Linked DNA regions of Homo sapiens: region 1 is linked to region 2. The links are contacts of gene promoters, found by promoter capture Hi-C in human tissues and cell types (Jung and others, 2019). All regions are on one chromosome and are shown on one strand. Each heading gives the region's core, a stretch centred on a gene start or on the middle of the fragment in contact. The rest is flanking DNA. Distances are from core to core; before and after follow the strand shown. Region 1 overlaps RAB31 (RAB31, member RAS oncogene family). Region 2 holds the start of TXNDC2 (thioredoxin domain containing 2).

Region 1 (7,638 bases), core at 2,964-5,463, 41 kb before region 2:
GCGAGACTGCCTCCCATTTCAGACTAGAGCTGCAAGTTTCTGGTATCCCCAAGTTATCTGCATTTCTGCCCAACAGACTACAAATTTGGGGTCTCCTATGACCTCTCCTCAAATTCAGTAATTCACTAGAATGGACTCACAGAACTCAGGAAAGCACTGTACTGTCAAAGGAAGGAATTATGATTACTGTCAAAGGAAGGAATTACAACAAATTTATTTTTAAATATTCTTTAGAGACAGTATCTCACTCTGTTACCCAAGCGAGAGTGCAGTGGTACAATCATAGCTCACTGCAGCCCCAAACTCACCAGGCTCAAGCGATCTTCCCATCTCAGTAGCTCCTGAGTAGCTGAGTCCACAAGCACACACCATCACACCTGGCTAATTTTTCCTATTTTTTGTAGAGATAGGGCCTTGCTATGCTGCTGATGCTGGTCATGAACTCCTGATCTGGAGCGATGCTCCTGCCTTGACCTCCCAAAGTGCTGGGATTACAGGCGTGAGCCACTGTGCATGGCCCAAATTTAGTTTAAAGATCTCAATTGGGCCAGGCGCAGTGGCTCACACCTGTAATCCCAGCACTTTGGGAGACTGAGGCGGGTGGATCACGAGGTCAGGAGATCAAGACCATCCTGGCTAACATGGTGAAACCCCGTCTCTACTGAAAATACAAAAAGTTAGCCGAGCGTGGTGGCAGGCGCCTGTAGTCCCAGCTATTCCGGAGGCTGAGGCAGGAGAATGGCGTGAACCCGGGAGGCAGAGCTTGCAGTGAGCCGAGATGGCGCCACTGCACTCCAGCCTGGGCGATAGAGTGAGACTCTGTCTCAAAAAAAAAAAAAAAAAAAAATCTCAATTGGCTTTATTCATGATTCTAGAACTGGCAACAAATCATTCCATAAAATAGAATAAGTGTTCCCATGGGCTGAGCAGAGGGGATTGGCTTTATAGACAGAGAAGGGCTGAAGAAAGCAGGAACAAGGAACAGTAGCCTGCTAGTCGTTTCAAAGATACTTTTCTTGGGGGACAGGCAGAGGGAGGGACGGGGAAACAGAACGATGGAATATCAGATGAGTTAACATGTCATGTAAGGATTAAAGCCAAGGGAACTGCATTCCATGGCTACTGAAGATTTCAGCTGGCCTATTTGGGAAATTGGCTGTTACCTCTTGTGACTTCTCAGAAGGTCAGATAACTACTTAGTTTGGGTTTGGTGAAGGGGAACTTAAGCATGGGTGACTACTTTTATTTTCAGTCTGGTCTCATGGGGCCTAATGCAGGAGCTTAGGCCCGAAACAAAGGCCTCCTATAATATTAATTTGACATACAGTTCTGTTGTTATGGACACAACTCAGGAGTAGCTAAATGGAAGAGATAGTGAGGGCGAGGGGTGGGAGTGGGACAAGGAGCTTCCAGCCTCTCAGGGGTAGCACTCCCAGCACACCAGTGTGCTCAGCAGCCCGGACCCTCTCAAGCCTTGTGTTCAATAGTTCGTATTGAGGCTTCATTACTTAGATGACTAATGAAGATTGATTAAATCTCCAGCCCCAGAGGCTGGCGTTGGGGCTGAAAGATTCAACCCTCTAACCATGTGGTTGATTCCTCCAGCAACCAGGCTCATCCTGAAGAGGCCACAGGATGGTCTAGGGCCACACGCTATCAAACTCAGTCATGGCTGAAGGGGCTCTTCAAGAATACCAGAAGACACTCCTATCACCCAGGAAACTCTGAGGGTTTGGGGAGAACTGTGCCGGGAACCAGGGCAAAGACCGAATCTGTATTTTTTTATTATGCCACAGTAATGGGAGCATATTTTGGCAGACTCAAGAGTGATTGGTCGTTCTAATCTTAGTTCACATTGGAGGGACTTTCACTGGCCCTCCAGATTCTTCCTGTAAGCACCTGTTCTTTAGGAGGATGGAGTAGGCTCCTGCCCCGCCCCACCCCAACTGCAGTGCATGTGACAGTTTGAAACACTTTGAGCCCCACATGTGTCTGTCAAGATGGAAATAACAGCCTCTGGCATGTGGTGCTGGTGGGTGCTTGTGCCATTGCAGCCCTGTAGGAGTGAGGTGGACAGAGTCACGGGTTTGGGTTAAGCCCTGTCTCACCTCTCATTAGGCATGTCACTTCGGCAGGCCGATGATTTAATGAGACTCACCTCTAGCCATGGAAGGAGTCTGAGGGTGTGCTTTTCTTATCTTCCCATCTCCATATTTATGTTGTAGACTGTGAAGGAATTAGCCTCTTGGCCATGGTCATCCTAAGGATGGAGATGTTGGGCTGTGGTACATGATAACTGTTCTTTTGTAAGCCTAGTGAACCTGTGCCGCTCCTTCTTGTCCTGCAGTTGGACTGATTAGAGGGGCTGAGGAAGTGCTTCACCTGTGAATGTGATTTCCTCTCACCTGCGGGCCCAGAGGCATCCTTGCTTGCCAGGTGCTCCTCACCCCACCCCCAGTAGGGTAGCAGGTGACATCTCCTCCTGCACCCCATTGTGGGCAGAGATGAGCCCCACCCTTTATCTGTGCTTTGATAAAGACTTCAGGAAGAGGCTGGGCGCAGTGGTGCAAGCCTGTAATCCCAGCACTTTGGGAGGCTGAGGCAGGCGGATTACTTGAGGCCAAGAGTTCAAGACCAGACTGGGCAACGTGGCGAAACCCCGTCTTTACCAAAAAATACAAAAATTAGCCAGGTGTGGTGGTGCGCACCTGTAATCCCACCTACTCAGGAGGCTGAGGCACAAGAATTGCTTGAACCCGGGAGGCGGAGGTTGCAGTGAGCCGAGATCATGCCACTGCACTCCAGCCTGGGCGACAGAGCAAGACACTGTCAAAAAAAAAAAAAAAAAAAAAACTTCAGGAGGAAGTAAAAAACAAGGTATCATGCCAAACTGCACAGAGAAAAGCACTTTTCTGTAATCTTTCAAATATAAAATTCTGTTGCCAGAAAAACTCCAGCATAATCCCTGTGACAGGCCTGGGTCTTGTCTGTTACAAACAAGAGAGTGAATGTCGGGGTGTACTTTTCCCTGCAGTTTGGAAGCACAGGTGCCCACTGACTTGGCTCCAGGGACATATTTCTTTTGGCTGAGAGGCTGGGGCCATCGCCTTTAACATGGTAGACCCTAGTCAGGCGCTTTTCCAGCTAGGACTGAAGGGTCTTCCCCGCATATGGTTTGAGTCCCATAGGAATTTGAATGCCAAAGTAGAATTTCCTTGGTAACTTTAAACCTCTTGAAGCCATTTACAGGCTCTGGGGCAGGTGGAGGAAGGGGCGGGGAGGTGGGCGCTCTCCCATCACTCTCTGTCCCTGTTTTGATTTTGTGTCTTCCTTCTCTTTTCCAATAGCAATCCTTCTGGTCGAGGATTGTGATACTCTTGCCTGCAGCATTAGAGGAGCTTCCAGATTCTTCTCCTCACCTCCATCCATTCTATGCACCATTTTTTCCTAGACTGTGGAGCTGACCCTGTCACTTCCTGTCCTTCAGTGGCCTCTGGGTATAGACAGACATGGTGTGCCTCCCTCTCTCAGCTCCAACCTCTCTGACATTCTCTCCATTCGGGCCCGTGTCATTCATTTGCAAATCCGCCATAACATCCCCAGCAGTGCTGGGTGCAGAATCAACTTTTAATAATCTCCGGGAATGTGTGCACTCTCCTGTCTCTGGGCCTCTGCTCAGGCTGTCCCATCCCAGAGTCTGACCTGCATTTGCCTAGCCTTCATGGCCACACTTAAGGTGACCACCTCTGGGCATCTTCCTGGGGTCTATTGAACAGAACACATCACTTCCTGCCCCTCTGCTCCTGAAGCACTTTATGTCGCAGTGTTGTGGATTAGAGTGCCCCTGGATGAGCCCTGTTTGTCTGTGTTCTAAAGCACAGGTGCCAGAAGGCAGAACCTGTGTTTTCTCTGGCCCCTGGGAGAGGGACTGGCATGCAGCAGCTGCTGGAGAATAGGAACTGCATCTTTTTTATCTTTGGATCCACCACAGCATTTTCACATTGAAAAGAGGTCAGTAGGTTTTTTTAGGGTGGTATGGCCGTAGACCCCATCCAAGTACTAGCCAGGCCTGACCCTGCCTAGCTTCCAAGATCAGATGAAATCAGGTGCGTTCAGGTGAGTTTTGTTTTGTTTTGTTTTGTTTTGTTTTGTTTTGTTTTGTTTTGTTTGAGACGGAGTCTTGCTCTGTCACCCAGGCTGGAGTGCAGTGGTGTAATCTCGGCTCACTGCAAGCTCTGCTTCCTGGGTTCACGCCATTCTCCTGCCTCAGCCTCCCGAGGAGATTTTTTTAATTGTTCATTTAAATAGAGTTCATGCCCTAAAACCTTTGCGAGAACATCCTTTTACAGATGAAAGTCCAGATATGCCATCCTGTATTGTAGCCATGGTCGGTATAACCATGCTCGTTTCCAAACTGTCACAGCACATTGCATATTTTCTCTGATTTGTGAAAGATAATATGTAAAAAGTTTCACAAAAGCATGTGTGCACAAACATACTAACAGAGGTTTGGTGTTTTTTAATATTGAGTCATGTAATGGGGAAAAAAGTTGAAATCAGCTGTAGCTCTGAAAGCTGAAATGTGTACTGCCATATTTGTCATGGTTTTCCCTGCTGTTCTGGAATTCTTCTGTGGGAGCAGGAACACTATTTTATATATGCATATCTTCTCTTCATGAATGCCAGAGACTGGGTTTTAAACTTTAAAAAGTCTCACTCATACTAGGTGTCCATTCTTGCTGAGTGATTGAATTATTATTCTACAAGAAGATAAAGGAGCTGTTGCCGCACAAGCTGTCTGGTCTTTTGGGTGATTTGTATTTTACAAACAAACATTCATTTCCTGTCTACATTTGACCTCTTTTCCAGGGAGGTTCCCCTGAAGGATGCTAAGGAATACGCTGAATCCATAGGTGCCATCGTGGTTGAGACAAGTGCAAAAAATGCTATTAATATCGAAGAGCTCTTTCAAGGAATCAGTAAGTACCTGAAATTGGGTTTTCAGCCCAACTTGCATTTTTATGCTTCTGGGAGTCAAAGGATAACATTTTAGAACTCTGAAGTGAACTTTTCCTCTGTGTGAATTTATCGGATGCCATGGATACAAAATCTACAGCTATGCAGTTGTTAATACCCACTTCTATTATCCTCTCGATTCTAGATTTCCATGATTCTGTACTGGAACCTGTTCACTCTGAGTTCTGTAAATTAAAATGAAGTAATCCTGTTGCAAAAATAAAATTTATTTTAATTGAAAATTATGCATTCTGTAGCATTTTATGTTAGGAGGAGAGAGAAAATAGACAAGGTATAGAACTCAAGGTCACCCATTAGATGGGATGACTCTAGGTAAACTGAGGGAACCTTCCAGTAACTTTTTTTGCCTGATCATCTCCTACAAAAAGTAATGTCTCCATCCTGTTTGACCTGAAATTGGGAATTGGATACAGGGTTGGCGTGTACAGGTACCCCATGTGTCTGGTGAGCTAATTAGGGAGGGTGACAGCCTCCTTCCTGGTCCCAGTGCTGGGTCCCGTTATGCTCACTGTATGCCGGCTCCCCGGGAATAACCTTATCAACCAGAGCTGGTTCCCAGCTAATGGCTCTGCCAACACATCTATCTGCAGCTGTGAGGCTTCCAGCTCAACAGATTTAACCTTCATAAGTTCTCTGGTTGTGTCATTCTGTTCCGGATTCTGCCAGAGAAGTCCCTGCTGACAGCCATCTGGGAAAACTGCTCTGAGACACCCTCAGGAAAGTTCGACCGGAGCATTATCAGGGACGTTGGGAGAAGTACAGGTGTTTGATGAAATACTGGCCCTGAAGTTCCTGGAATAGCCACCTTAGGAGGAGTTGAACCCCAAAACAGTAATTGTCCTCAAATATCTTAGCTCCAGACAACTCCAGAAGGGAAACTGATGGTTTGATCTCTTTCCTGCCTGAGATCGTTTTTGGCAGAGCTCTCAAAGTCAGAGAAGCCGTGGCTTCCCAGAACAGTTTTGATTTCTGTTTAACTGGTTTGAGTGCATTACTTTAGACTCCAAGAACCCACAGGAGGGAATCTTTTGTTTATGTTGGCTTGATGGAGAATTCATTGGAGATGGGGAATTCTGACCTGTCTTACCTACACTATGCAGAGATATGCAAAAGAAATGTGCAAAAGAATGGCTTGGAGCCTCCCCTCCCCAGCTGCTGGCCCTTTCCTTCACTGGGGTCTTCACTCTCTTCCCTTCTTTCCACCTTCCCTTTCTTTCCTCCTTTGATTTCTTACTCTCAACAGAATGGTTTCAGGCTCCTTGCCCTGAATGGCTGAACTCTAGCAGGCTGGGGCTGGAATTTCATGTGGGAAACCCCATGTCCCCACATTCCTCTCCCTTCTCCATCATGGTCAGTGGGTGCAGATGCTCTCTGGTGTTGTGTCACTCTGGGTGACATCTAAGTTTGGGCTCGAACTCATTACATTAGCCTCACATTTCCTCAGATTAAACTCATTCTCTTCTGGTGGCGTTAGGCTCTTCTGCTATGCTCAGCTATGAAACATTTTGTTTTTACAGGTGGTTTTAATGAATGAAGCTAGATAGCTCCTGAGGACGATTGCCTTAGCACCTTCCATCCTTACAGCCCCGCGTCTTCCGCAGAGCCCCCTCCTCCTCCTTAGCTCCCTGGCCTTGGAAGACCCCCAGCACAGATATCAGTGGTCAGCCAGGGGAGCCTGGTGCCTTGTATGACCTGAACTTGAGCTTGAGATCTCTGCACCAGCTGGGAAGCTTTCTGAAGTTTATGAAAGTCATTGTTAAAATTTAAAAATATCAAATAAGGACCTGAAAGAGAAGAAGCCTGAGTAGGAAGTACTGTACTAATATCTTTTTTCTTTTTTTTTCTGAGACAGAGTCTTTGTTGCTCAGGCTGGAGTGCAGTAGTGCAATCATAGCTCGCTGCAGCCTCCACCTCCTGGGCTCAAGCAATCCTCCGACCTCAGCCACCTGGGTAGCTGGGACTATAGGTGTGCACCACCACACTCAGCTAAATTTTTGGATTTTTAGTAGAATCAAGGTCTCGCCATGTTGCCTAGGCTGGTCTCAATCTCCTGAGCTCAAGCAATCTTCCCCCATCGGCCTCCCAAAGTGCCAGGATTACAGGTGTGAGCCACCACACATGGCTTGTAGTAATAACTTAAAAGACATTTATCCAGTATAAATCCCTTCCTGTGTGTGACAGGGACTTTGAACAGGTTAATTCCTCAGATCTTGGTGGTCTACTTTATGAAAAAACAAGTGCTTTGCTCAAACATGGGTAATTATGGTTTCAAAGTAATTAATTCCTATATAAGCCATCAAATACCCATATCACCTCATCTTTCATGTCACATAAACAATTGTTTGTTTCTGTTTTATTATACTTTGGTTGTAACTGCCTTGACAAAGAAAGCTTGTAAATACACAGCCATGGCAAAACCTCAGTCTGTCCATCTGTCTGGCTATCCATCTGTCTGTCTATCCATCTTTCCCTCCATCTGTCTGTCCATCTGTCCACTTGGCTGTCTATCTGTCCATCTGCCTGTCTGTCTCTGTCTGTCCTTCTGTCCATCTGTGTGTATATCCATCTTTCTAGCTGTCCATCTGTCTATCCATCTGTCCG
Region 2 (7,045 bases), core at 1,944-4,443:
CACAACCTGAGTGACATAAGGGCTCATGAGCTATTTGGGAATGAGCTTCTGCTGAAGGAAAACATACATTTTATGACAAGTCAGTGGAAGAATTAATATTTCAAGTTGCTTGGAATTCATCTGAATTGCAGAAGGAAGAGTAAAAATATCAGGAACAAGTGCCAAACCTAAAACACAACGAAGATCTCCAAGTATAAATGTAACAGGATCACAGATTTCCTCTCTTTTACTAAGACATTCAGGTACAATATCACTTATACATTTCTCTAGAATGGCTCATCCTTCCCATGAGCCTTATCTCAATGGGTTTTGGGGTGGGATGGTGAGGAGCAGGGAAACCGAATTAAGTTTGCCTGTTTGTGGAATTTTGGCTCAAAGAACCCTTTTCCATGGTGTAGCGGTGCAATCTTTCAGAGTTCTCACTTTGTCCATAGTGTCTGGATGCCCAGGGCTACACGGATAAACGTGCCGGGTGCTCTGGTCCCGTGCTGGTTTCCCATGTGAATTGGCTGGTCTGGCCTGGTCCCCAGCCTGAGATCTCTTGAAGGACCCACTGATTCCATTTAGGACAGGGGCATCGTGATGTTACTCACTGCTGGAGTCTGTGATTCCAGTCCTTGCCTCTGGTCACAGATCCTCCTCCTCTGAGTCTTCTTCCTCTAGGCCTCTATCTTTCACCAGTCTCAGAGCACTCCCAGCCACTCTCTGAGGTGTACATCGTTGCTAGATCTTTAACCTCCTCCCTGCAGGCTGTGGGGCCTGCCCCAGGTCCACACATCCATTCTTACCCTCTACTAGGGGCCACGCTGCACGAGGACAGTGCTGTGTTGGATGTGAAGTCCACGTGGGCTCATCCTGGCCTTCCAAGTGGAGCAGGAGGCAGATGCCCCTCTGCTTTCAGCTGCAAGTCTTTTTTTATCTTTTTTTTTTTTCTTTTTTTGAGAGAGTCTTGCTCTGTTGCTCAGGCTAGAGTGCAGTGGCACCATCTCCGCTCACTGCAACCTCTGCTTCCCAGGTTCAAGCGATTCTCCTGCCTCAGCCTCCTGAGTAGCTGGGATTACAGACATTTGTCACCACATCCGGCTAACTTTCGTATTTTTAGTAGAGATCTAAAATCGCATTTTTAGTAGAGTAGCACATCTGATTAGTATCTGTGCTGGCAATCAACCTGGAGAAAGGAGGCCGGGACACAGGCATCTGTCCTCTTGCCTCCACATCTACTGGGATGGCAGGAGTGATGTTTTCACTTCTGCCTCTCAGCGATGGAGTTCCTCTGTGTCCTCATCCACTCCCTTCCAAACAGCAGGGACCCTGTACAAGATAGGGTCCCAGGAAGTAAATTAACTTACCAATGAGCAAGGGCCAAAGATGCTGCCCACTTTGTGCTAATAAAATCTGCTCATGATGGTTTCTGCAAATGATGCCTATCCTCCCCGCTTCACCTCCTTTCTCCTAACACTAAGAAAGAAGACATTGCCCAGATAAGTGCCTGACGTTTATTTTCATCCTCTGCTTTAAAATAGGGCACCATGAAAAACAGTCCTGTCAGCTGTGGAAGCCGTTGGCATTGGAGAGTGAAGACAACCTCCCGTCCTTTAAAATATCACATAAGAAAGGCCCAAAGTCTCCCAGTGAGAGAGGGAAGAGCTTTCTTTGGCAGTAACCGAGGAAACGGAGTGGAAGCATGAGCTCTTCCTGGAACAGGATTCATATCATCAAGAACTACGGATTTGCTGGGCCAGGCATGGTGGCTCACGCCTGTAATCCCAGCAATTTGGGAGGCTGAGGCAGGTGGATCGTTTGAGGTCAGGAGTTAGAGACCAGCCTTGCTAACATGGTGAAACCCTGTCTCGACTAAAAAAAATACAAAAATTAGCCGGGTGTGGTGGTGAATGCCTGTAATCCCAGCTACTCGAGAGGGTGAGGCAAGAGAATTGCTTGAACCTGGGAGATAGAGGTTGCAGTGAGTCGAGATTGTGCCACTGCACTCCAGCCTCGGTGACAGGGCAAGACTGTCTCAAAGAAAAAAAAAAAAGGAACTATGGATTTGCTAAGGCCAATAGTCTCTCTACCCCTTAGTAAAATGTGTTTTGGTATAAAAATCCAGATAATTGAACCATTGCCATTAGATGTTTCGAGGTTTCTATTGACAATGTGGAGGTCTTATCATTTAGATTTCAACACTTTTATTTTTAGTTTTTAGAGACGGGGCCTTGCTCTGTTGCCCAGGCTAGAGTACGATGTAGTGATCACGGCTCACTGCAGTCTTGAACTCACTGGCTCAAGCAAGCCTCCCACCTCAGCTTCCCAAGTAGCTGGGACAGGCGTGTGCCACTGTGCCTGGCTAGGTTTTGTATTTTTTGTAGAGATGGGGTCTTGCTATGTTGCCTAGGCTGATCTCAAACTCCTGGGCTCAAGAAATCCTCCCACCTTGGCCTCCCAAAGTACTGAGATCACGGTGTGAGCCACCATGCCTGACCACTTTCAACACTTATATTGTTGGGGTGAAACTGAAACATATGAGGATTTGTTCAAAGTACATGTAGAGAAGGCAAAATTCCACACTGATTCTTCCTGCCTTGGACTGGATGTGTTGTGCAGAGTGAGGGTGGAAAATGAGCCAGTGGTCCTGAACTAATAAAATAAGTCTCCCTGGGGGACAGGTATTTGGCTTCCCATTCCACAGGATGGGGTAGATGTGGCTTATGGAACCAGGATTATTCACAAAGAGGTTGTTCTCCTGTATGTAAAGGCTGGAAGAGCCGTGTACTTGGATGTGTCTGCATGGGGGAGGGCACAGGCTGGGCTGGTGCGCCTGGGAGGTGGGGGAGGTGGGGAAAGAGGCTGTCTAGCAGGAGCTGAACATTTGACATTGTGGGACACTTTGCAGAGGAGGCTAACATGGTTTCGAGGAGATACTTAGGAGCTGGTCACAATGGGTGAGTCGTAAAGAGAATGTTGGAGCTGGGGGATCCTGGAGAAAGATGATAAGATGGTTGATTCACAGAACCCAGGCTGGACGGGACTTGTGGCGAGCAGTCCAGCACAGCCTCACAGTGCAGAGCATGAGCTTTGGAGCCTGCCCCCACCCTAGCTTTGTGACCTTAAGTGAGCTACATAGCTTCTCATGTGTAAACTACTCATCATAATGGTTCTGACCTCAGTGGTTTGTTGTGTTCTAGGAAATGATGCCAGTGAATGCGTAGTCCCAGCCTCAGCACAGGGGAGCCACCTTGAAGCTCTCAAATATCACTGTTGTGAATACAGAGAGGGAAAACCAACTGTAACGTGCCACCCAAATGTAAGTTTTACTCATATTTTGATGTTAGGATGGATAGCTTGGAAAAAGTTGGAGGGTACGGCCTTTACTATGAGGCATCTATGAAGGATCAGGAATGGATGTAGACAAGGAACTAGGAATGGAAAGTGTTAAAGCTGGAGCCTCTGGAAAACCAGAAATGAGGCTGGGCACTCAGGAAGAAACAAGTGAAGGTGATGCTAATGGTAAGTAGGGGAGGAAAGAGGGTTGCCTTAAAGACCTATGCAGTTAGGGAGCGGGCAGGGTGTTGAACCAAGAAGGGAAAGTTGTAGCTTAAGAACATGTATACAGAAGATACGTGTAACCACACGCTGTTTGTCCTTCTGCTGAATGAGTTTTTCAGATTAATACATCATTCATCAGACTTCATTCGTGATCTCGAAGAGTGACATCAGTCTTCCTTGGAATATGAAGAGAATTTCTTTGGTTCTTCTTTTGCATTTCTATTTGATTTATTTTATTTTATTTTATTTTATGTTTTTTGGTACAGAAAGCTCATTACTAGTCCTGTCCAGCAACGTGCCTCTCCTGGCCCTAGAGTTCTTGGAAATAGCCCAGGCCAAAGAGAAGGCCTTTCTCCCCATGGTCAGCCACACGTTCCACATGCGCACAGAGGAGTCTGATGCCTCACAGGAGGGCGATGACCTACCCAAGTCCTCAGCAAACACCAGCCATCCCAAGCAGGATGACAGCCCCAAGTCCTCAGAAGAAACCATCCAGCCCAAGGAGGGTGACATCCCCAAGGCCCCAGAAGAAACCATCCAATCCAAGAAGGAGGACCTCCCCAAGTCCTCAGAAAAAGCCATCCAGCCCAAAGAGAGTAACATCCCCAAGTCCTCAGCAAAACCCATCCAGCCCAAGCTGGGCAATATTCCCAAGGCCTCAGTGAAGCCCAGCCAGCCCAAGGAGGGTGACATCCCCAAGGCCCCAGAAGAAACCATCCAATCCAAGAAGGAGGACCTCCCCAAGTCCTCAGAAGAAGCCATCCAGCCCAAAGAGGGTGACATCCCCAAGTCCTCAGCAAAACCCATCCAGCCCAAGCTGGGCAATATTGCCAAGACCTCAGTGAAGCCCAGCCAGCCCAAGGAGAGTGATATCCCCAAGTCCCCAGAAGAAACCATCCAGCCCAAGGAGGGTGACATCCCCAAGTCCTCAGCAAAGCCCATCCAGCCCAAGCTGGGCAATATTCCCAAGGCCTCAGTGAAGCCCAGCCAGCCCAAGGAGGGTGACATCTCCAAGTCCCCAGAAGAAGCCATCCAGCCCAAGGAGGGTGACCTCCCCAAGTCCCTAGAGGAAGCCATCCAGCCCAAGGAGGGTGACATCCCCAAGTCCCCAGAAGAAGCCATCCAGCCCAAGGAGGGTGACATCCCCAAGTCCCTAGAGGAAGCCATCCAGCCTAAGGAGGGTGACATCCCCAAGTCCCCAGAAGAAACCATCCAGCCCAAGAAGGGTGACATCCCCAAGTCCCCAGAAGAAGCCATCCAGCCCAAGGAGGGTGACATTCCCAAGTCTCCAAAACAAGCCATCCAGCCCAAGGAGGGTGACATTCCCAAGTCCCTAGAGGAAGCCATCCCACCCAAGGAGATTGACATCCCCAAGTCCCCAGAAGAAACCATCCAGCCCAAGGAGGATGACAGCCCCAAGTCCCTAGAAGAAGCCACCCCATCCAAGGAGGGTGACATCCTAAAGCCTGAAGAAGAAACAATGGAGTTCCCGGAGGGGGACAAGGTGAAAGTGATCCTGAGCAAGGAGGACTTTGAGGCATCACTGAAGGAGGCCGGGGAGAGGCTGGTGGCTGTGGACTTCTCGGCCACGTGGTGTGGGCCCTGCAGGACCATCAGACCATTCTTCCATGCCCTGTCTGTGAAGCATGAGGATGTGGTGTTCCTGGAGGTGGACGCTGACAACTGTGAGGAGGTGGTGAGAGAGTGCGCCATCATGTGTGTCCCAACCTTTCAGTTTTATAAAAAAGAAGAAAAGGTGGATGAACTTTGCGGCGCCCTTAAGGAAAAACTTGAAGCAGTCATTGCAGAATTAAAGTAAACATGTATTCTGAAAACATTGCAGACAGTCAGGTGTTTATAGCTTTTGAGTTCTCTTTTATTATTTACACAAAGTGATCAGGTATAACAAAAGTGTATGTCCAAATGGCACTGCTTGTACATGATAATATTAACTCTACCCTTTTCAAAAAACAGTCCAAGCATTAAAGTACATTGCGACTGTGTTTCTGTTAGTGGGAGAGTATAAAATTAGAAATTCCCATGGTGAAGACTGCTAAGTCCCATGGTTTCCTATTTTTCAATCTTGATATGTATTTATTTTTCACTTGTCTTTGAAAATTTCACGCATTTAGTGTTTGCAGCAAGACTGAAAATTTAGATAATTTTTCTATAGAGGTAGATGACTGAAAGGTGAATGGAAACTTCTTTTCTCATGTCACACATCTTTGGGGATTCTGATAAGATATGTTTGGAAATAAGGAATTTGAAAGATTCACATCTTAGCTAACCTCCTTCTTGTGCCGGAAGTGCTACGGAGGCCTTGGGAAATTCAGTGGGTTTTCCAAGATCTGATTTGTTGGTGACGGAAATGAGATCAAGGCCGCTTCCAGATTTCAAGTCCAGGGCTCTACCTACTATAATCTACGCTCACAAAATCTCAGACAAGAGGTCGGAACTTCAGGTTTCTCGGAGGTTGAAGTCCTCTGGATCTTTGCTGCCTTTATGACATCAGTGCCCTGATGGCAGAGTTCCTGGTTCGTCTCCCTGGTAATTGAGTTCATAATACCTAGACCTTCCTCTGACTTTTTTACTTAAATTTGTTCTTATTTTCAATATTGAACAAGCCAGCCTTTAACATGACTCTACCAGCTTAGACATATAGGCCTAGACTTTAATGAATTAACCTAATCACAGTGCTACCAGAGTCTTGTTTGGACAACTTAGTGAGCCCCAGATGTCTATGAGCCCAAAGTCCCAGGTCTGAACCATAGACAGAGGCTTAGTCCAGAGTGGGTTTTTAAAAATGAATAAAACCAGCTTCATTAGGTATAATTGATATACAAAGAACAGCACATATTTAATGGAGGGAGTTGGATGAGTTTGGATGTGTTGCATATGCCCTTGATTGCCATCTCCACCATCAAAGTAATTAACACCTTCATTGCCTCCAGAAGTTTCCTTGTGTCACTGTGCTTTATTGTTATTACTATCATGGTAAAAGCACTTAACAGATCTACTCTCCTAACACATTTTTAAGTGCCCAGTACTGTACTGTTAACTAGGGGCATGATGCCGCACAGCAGATCTGTGGAACTTACTCATCGGTGTGGCTGAAATTTAACACCCATCGAACAACTCCCCGTTGCCCCTTCCCCCACCCTCTGGCAGTCACCATTCTACTTTTTGCTGGTCCAGAGTGTTTTTAAAAATTTGAATTTGTTGCCAACATTTCAAATATCAGGATTTAAAAAAAAAATCTAGATGTCTAGCTTTTCTTGAAAAATTGTAAGATCTGGCAATCCAGGCTTGCCTTACCTCAAGAAAACCAATCTAACCTTCGGGTCTGAGCGGCAGCTGCCTCCATCTGATAGGGCGCACTCTCTCCAGTCTTCTGCTGCAGAACCTGGCTGGCTTCTTCACTTAGCCAGCTGAGTTGCAATCCCTATCTTAAGTTCAAGACTGGGACTGGGCGCGGTGGCTCACACCTGTAATCCCAGCACTT

The links. The method cuts DNA at HindIII sites, captures the fragments that hold promoters and counts their contacts. A contact is called where the count stands out against the background at its distance.
Region 1: a fragment that was not itself captured here is called in contact with the fragment with the promoter of TXNDC2 in region 2 in 5 of the 25 tissues and cell types used here (adrenal gland, dorsolateral prefrontal cortex, heart left ventricle and 2 more).

Annotation. Positions count from the first base shown.
Region 1 is chr18:9,840,713-9,848,350 of GRCh38, forward strand. It overlaps RAB31 (RAB31, member RAS oncogene family), which reads left to right. Exons shown (of 7, transcript NM_006868.4): 6 at 4,870-4,979. It also overlaps the pseudogene RNA5SP449. Among named protein-coding and RNA genes, the nearest start is that of TXNDC2, 41 kb to the right of the region's middle. The HindIII fragment of the contact is 5,768 bases long and covers 1,330-7,097 here.
Region 2 is chr18:9,882,780-9,889,824 of GRCh38, forward strand. It overlaps TXNDC2 (thioredoxin domain containing 2), which reads left to right and starts at 3,194. Exons shown (of 2, transcript NM_032243.6): 1 at 3,194-3,301; 2 at 3,810-6,496. The coding sequence starts at 3,902. The coding sequence ends at 5,362. The HindIII fragment of the contact is 24,551 bases long and covers 1-7,045 here.